2 separate regions of the Homo sapiens genome follow, and region 1 is linked to region 2. Evidence: promoter capture Hi-C in human tissues and cell types (Jung and others, 2019). All regions are on one chromosome and are shown on one strand. Each heading gives the region's core, a stretch centred on a gene start or on the middle of the fragment in contact. The rest is flanking DNA. Distances are from core to core; before and after follow the strand shown. Region 1 overlaps C12orf56 (chromosome 12 open reading frame 56). Region 2 holds the start of SRGAP1 (SLIT-ROBO Rho GTPase activating protein 1).

The links. The method cuts DNA at HindIII sites, captures the fragments that hold promoters and counts their contacts. A contact is called where the count stands out against the background at its distance.
Region 1: a fragment that was not itself captured here is called in contact with the fragment with the promoter of SRGAP1 in region 2 in 1 of the 25 tissues and cell types used here (dorsolateral prefrontal cortex).

The regions. Positions count from the first base shown.
Region 1 is chr12:64,377,904-64,381,229 of GRCh38, forward strand. The region is part of intron 1 of C12orf56 (chromosome 12 open reading frame 56); the gene reads right to left. Among named protein-coding and RNA genes, the nearest start is that of C12orf56, 11 kb to the right of the region's middle. The HindIII fragment of the contact is 5,937 bases long and covers 1-3,326 here.
Region 2 is chr12:63,843,410-63,846,290 of GRCh38, forward strand. SRGAP1 (SLIT-ROBO Rho GTPase activating protein 1) reads left to right here and starts at 1,291. Exons shown (of 22, transcript NM_020762.4): 1 at 1,291-1,474. The coding sequence starts at 1,408. RefSeq lists silencers at 224-643, 704-763, 874-1,133 and enhancers at 296-797, 798-1,297. The HindIII fragment of the contact is 18,473 bases long and covers 1-2,881 here.

The DNA.
Region 1 (3,326 bases), core at 529-3,028, 530 kb after region 2:
AGATTAGAGCACTGACTCTGGAGCCAGATGATCTAAATTCAAATTCTGGTTCTGCCACTTAATGGACAACCTTGGGCAAATTGCTTAAATTCTCTGTAATTCAGGTTTCTTGTCTGTAAAACTGAGCTAAGAATATTATCTGAGTTGTTATGAGGATGAAGTTCCAAGCTAAGCACTTAGAACAGCATCTAACTGGCATACAGTAAGCACTCAATAAATGTCAACTATTTGAGATGGTCATTAAGTACTGCTCACAAATATTACTGTTTTCCTTTCTTCCAGACATGTGGAATGCACACATGGTTGGATCACATTTTCCTGTCCCCTTTTAAGTTAGGCATGGCAATGTGCCTGACTCTGGCTAATAAAATGTGAAAAGTGGCATGTATCAGTTCTAGGTAGAAGCTTAAAAACCGGTACATAAATTTACTAAGTTAATTTCTCCCTGTCATGGTGAATAAGCAAACATGTGCTGAGATGGATGAGATGAAACCTCTTATACTAAGATGTGTGACTAAGTATCCCATATCTTGGGACTTTTTTTTTTTTTGAGATGGAGTCCTACTGTCTCCCAAGCTGGAGTACAGTGGCACAATCTCAGCTCACTGCAACCTCTGCCTCCCAGGTTCAAGAGATTCTCATGCCTCAGCCTCCCAAGTAACTGGGACTACAGGCATGTGCCAAGACACCCAGCTAATTTTTGTATCTTTTAGTAGAGACAGGGTTTCACCATGTTGGCCAGGCTAGTCTCAAACTCCTGGCCTCAAATGATCTGCCCACCTTGGCCTCCCAAATTGCTGTGATTACAGGCGTGGGCCACCACACCCAGCCCATATATTGGGACTTTTAAAAATGAACAGAACCTGGCTGGGCATGGTGGCTCACGCCTGTAATCCCAGCACTTTGGGAGGCTGAGGCAGGTGGATCACTTGAGGCCAGGAGTTTGAGACCAGTCTGGCCACCATAGTGAAATCCCGTCTCAGTTAAAAATACAAACATTAGCCGGGTGTGGTGGTGCGTGCCTGTAGTCCCAGCTACTCAGGAGGCTGAGGCAGGAGAATCACTTGAACCCAGGAGGCAGAGGTTGCAGTAAGCCAAGATTATGCCACTGCACTCCAGCCTGGGTGACAGGAATGAAACCCTGTCTCAAAAAAAAAAAAAAAAGTGAACAGAACCCCTTGCTAATCTGTGATAAATAAGTAGCTTGAATCCTGAATCAGACCTAAACCTCTGTTGTGTTGAAGCATTGAGACTTTGGGGCTATTTGTTAGTGCAGCTTAATCTGACCAATACACTGTCCTTACAATCACTGGGAATATAGTAGTGAATCAAATTGACAAGATGCCTGCCTTCATGAAGCTTCTTAAGACTTGAATGCAATTTCATTTTTTTTTTTTTTTGAGACGGAGTCTCGCTCTGTCTCCCAGGCTGGAGTGCAGTGGCGCATCTCTGCTCACTGCAAGCTCCGCCTCTCGGGTTCACGCCATTCTCCTGCCTCAGCCTCCTGCGTAGCTGGGACCACAGGTGCCCGCCACCATGCCCGGCTATTTTTTTGTATTTTTTTAGTAGAGACGGGATTTCACGGTGTTATCCAGGATGGTCTCAATCTCCTGACCTTGTGATCCGCCCACCTCGGCCTCCCAAAGTGCTGGGATTACAGGTGTGAGCCACCGCGCCCAGCCTGAATGCAATTTTCATACTATTCTATTCAAACAAATAATTTAGAAAAAGACAAATTGACTGATGTGAGTTTACCACTTCCTGCTGTCTCCCACAGTGAGAGCCTTAAAATGCTATAAAGTAGTCAAAATAAAGAAGAAAGCTGGAAAAGAAAAGAAGCATCTATAATATGGCCTCAGCTTACGTAACTCTTAATACCTGTCAAAACGCACGATATAAGCCGGGCGCAGTGGCTCACGCCTGTAATCCCAACACTTTGGGAGGCCGAGGTGGGCGGATCACAAGGTCAGGAGATCCAGACCATCCTGGCTAACACGGTGAAACCCCGTCTCCACTAAAAATACAAAAAAAAAAAAAAAAAAAAAAAAGTCTCCGGGCGTGATGGCGGACGGACGCCTGTAGTCCCAGCTACTCCGGAGGCTGAGGCAGGAGAATGGCGTGAACCCGGGAGGCGGAGCTTGCAGTGAGCCGAGATCGTGCCACTGCACTCCAGCCTGGGCGACAGAGCAAGACTCCGTCGCAAAAAAAAAAAAAAAAAAAAAAAAAAAAAACAAAACAAACAAAAAAAAACGCACAATGCAGCTAAACAACACAGGGATCATCTCACAATATGCACAAAGAAGCGTGTAGAGAGCTAAACATGAGCATCATGAGACCTATAAGATTTTATCCAGGCTCTGCCACCCACTGCCTGAGTAACGGCCAGTGTGATAACCTGTCAATTTCTGGGATCCCTCAACACTTGGATATAAGGAAATATCAACTCCTTCTCTAAGAGATAAGCTATATGATAGATCTGAGCATTAATTAATTAACTCATTCATTCTTCTAATCAGCAAATAGTTATTGACCGTCTACTAAGTGTCAGGGAATGTGAGGCACAGTGACACAGAGATGAACAAGAGAGGCAAGGTCCTACTCCCATGTAGCAGCTTACATTTACCATGGGAGATAGAGAACAGCAAATTGTTAAACAAGTTAATCTTATAAAATGCAAATAGTGATAACTACTTTGAAACAAACAGATGGGTAAGTGTGATGGGGGAATGGTACTTTTAGTTTGAGTGGTCAGAGAGGCATCCTCGTGGAAGTGATGCTGAGTTTGGGCTGAAATATGACTTACACAAAAGAACCAACCCCTAAGGATCTCGAGTGTTCTAGGTAGAAAGGCAAGTACAAAGGTCCTGAGGTATAGAAGGGCATAAAGAACGTGGGGAAGAGTGGTAGGAGATGAGTCAAAGAGACAGCAGGGTTAAATCATGCAGGCTTTTGTAAGCAATAAGGAGTTTGGAGGCTCATGGAGATTTTGAATCAGAAGCATGTTATAATTTAATTTATGATATATGTTTCAAAGATAACCACAATGTAACCACCCAACAGGTTCATGTTGCCTGCTGCCTAGACAAGGCCAATTTATCAAGACAGGGGAATTGCAATAGAGAAAGAGTAATTCATGCAGGGCCAGCTGTATGGGAGACTAGAGTTTTATTATTACTCAAAATAGTCTCCCTGAGAATTCGGGGATTAGAGTTTTTAAGGATAATTTTGGGTGGGGGCAGTGAGTCAGGAGTGTTGATTGGTTGGGTCAGAGATGAAATCATAGGGAGCCAAAGCTGTTCTTTTACCCTGAGTCAGTTCCTGGGTGG
Region 2 (2,881 bases), core at 41-2,540:
ATTGAAGAGCTTCGCGCTCTTTGGATTAACAGCCAGGTCATTCACAATTCAGTGTTCAGTTTTTCTATTGGGGTCCAGCGTCTCGGAGTAACATCCCTTTGTGTCATGGATACATCCAACTCTGGACTTCCCCATTAGATTCTGGCAAAAGCCCCACCAGAGCCCCCGCCAGAGCCAGAAGGCGGTCCCTCAGGTCAGGAAGGGGTTTTCCTGCCGCCGGAGCCGCGACCTCGGCTAGCGGTGGAGCGGGGCTTCGGCGGAGGGAGGTGCGGGGCCTCGGCGGAGGGAGGTGCCGGGGGCGCCGCCCACGGCCTCCTGGGCTCGGCGCGCGGGGCCGGGCTGCGGTTGGCCACAAGAGGCATCCATCTTCCCGGACCAGCCAGGCGTTTCCTAGCGGAGCAGGGGCGGGAGCTTGGACGGAGAAGGGCACAGGCCGGAGCGCGGTCCGCTCCCGCGAGCCTGGCCCCGCCTGGCGGAGCCCCGAGGAGCCACCGCCCGCAGATCGCTAGCCGGGCGCCCGCGAGGCGCGAGCCGTGTGCGCACCCTCAACTTTGCTGCCGCCGGGGGCGCGGCTCCCGCGTGCGTGTGCGAGTGTGCCTGTCACTAGCGGCCTCCTGGGGGCAGCAGCGGAAAGGGGGACGCAGAGAAAGGCAGCCTCGGCGCACCGCGGCCAGGGAGGCAGAGGCCCCTCGCGGCGCCGGCTCTGGAGACCTAAACTCCGCCGGGGCTGTGCCCAGGGCGCGTCTGAGCGTCGCCGCCTTCACCCTCTCAGCAGCAGCGGGGACTCGCGTCAGGACTGCGATTCCTTTCGCCTGCCGAGCTGTAGCGGCAGTGTCTGCGGGCAGAGGAGCGGCGGCCGTGGCAGCAGCATCCCCAGCCCGGGCGGGACCCTTGAGCGCCGGAGCCGACAGCTGGAGGCAGGAAGGGAGGGTTGTGGCGCCCGAGCTGGGCGCGTTCCCAGCGCCTGCCCTCCGCCGCTGGCCCTGTCCCGGGCGCCCGGTGCGGGTCTCGAACAATGGTGCGGAGCGCCGGCGCGAGCCCCGCGCCCGCCCAGCGGCCGTAGAGGAAGTGGCCGGGCTCCCGGCGAGGTGGGCAGGGAGACGTCCCCCGCCACTCGCTGGCTGGAGTTTGCCTGCGCGTCCGGCCTCTCCCCCGGGGATCCCCTGGGATTACCGACGGAGCTCAATTTCGAGAGTATGGTGCCAGCGCCCGGGCTAATCTAGTCCTCTCTACTCGCTCTTTTTCCCCTCCTCCTCCTACTTCTCCTCTCCCTCCTCCCTTCCCTCGGGTCGGCGCTGCCTCTGGATTGCCTGCGTGTGGGAGTACAACTCTGCCTCTCCAAGGAGAACGGGTTGTGACCACTGAACAAAACTTGCCCATTGAAAGCAAACCCGGAACAGCTGGATAATGTCCACCCCGAGCCGATTCAAGAAGGACAAAGAGATCATAGCCGAGTATGAAAGTCAAGTCAAAGGTAAGGATGGGAGCGGCTGCCTTGCTCCTTTTGTGTGCCTTCTTGTCATTGTGCTCGTGGAGTTGCGTATCTAACTTGGTGTCTGCGTGGGAGGAAGGTGGTGAGGGGACAGCTCGAGCCCTGTCTGAGCCACCTGGGCTTCCTACAAGCCAGTTAGTTCCCAGTTGCAATCCCAGTCCCGTCAAACCCACGGGGAGCTGGAAACTGGGTGACTTCCCCCGCCAGCTGCCAGCCCGCATCTCTAATGGGGAGAGAACTGGCTTTAACTTAACCACCTTCAGCTGGGCAACTTATGTGGGAAGCAGGCAGCAGTGGAGGATCCTGTCCAGCTATTATTATCACCATCATTATTCTTTTTAAATGGTAGGATTGTCACTACGTAATTTTTTTACGGAATGATTTTTGTAAAGTCTGTGAACCCCAAGCGGTCTACAGCCTCATTGAGTGCAGGCTATTTCAGATATTTACACCACTCACCTATTTACACCGCTCACAATTTATTAGGGCGAGACCCCTTTTATTAAATAGCTCCCTAAAAGCCTGGCAGTTAAACGAAGCAGTGACTAGTGGAATCTGACTCTTCCTTTATAATGGGCCAGAATTCATTGCCATCTTTCACACTCACATGGGAATATTGCTTTATCATTTTCTGGAAGCCACTTGCATGTAAAATGAAGGTTTGAATATTTGAGTAGTAGTTTCAGTCCATTTACATTGTCAACTAATGAAGGAAACCTAATTAAGGCTGATTATTTTTACTTTCTATGCCTTGTGATTAAAAATATATATATTTTCTCTCCAATACAAGTATTTTGTTTTGTTACTGAAGTGTTTCGTAAACATATGTGTTACTTGAATTTTTTCCTCCTCTTTCCTGAGGTCTCAGGAGTAGCTTTCCTGATTGAGACAATGGATGGAATGTTGGGACCGCCACTGTTCTTTGACACATTCAATGCAAAGTTCATAAAGATTGCTATGTATACACCTGTGTTTATCTATGCACAGTCTTATGAAAGGGCTACGGAGAGAGGCATTACTGTACTTCCCTTGAGCAAGGGAGGAGCAGCCTGAGTGTTCTTTTGTGTGGTCAAGTTGTAAAAATGCCTGGAGTCCTGTGAGAGGACCTGGTGGAGAAATCCTGTATCATCCAGTGTGAATACAGACCAACTCATTGTGGACACTGCAGACACAATATGCAAGATAACTTAGGTTATCTTTAGGAGGACCCCTATAATGGAGTTATCTATAGGCTGACCCCTATAATGTGTTCAGGAGACACAGATTTTTGTCTGCTTGGAATTGTGATAATTTATACTTACAGGAACTTGTTTCATTGCTATGGAAGTTGTGTTAGCAGATAAGTAATTATTTTCTTAGAGCCAGGTAAACTTTCTAATGAGACTAACC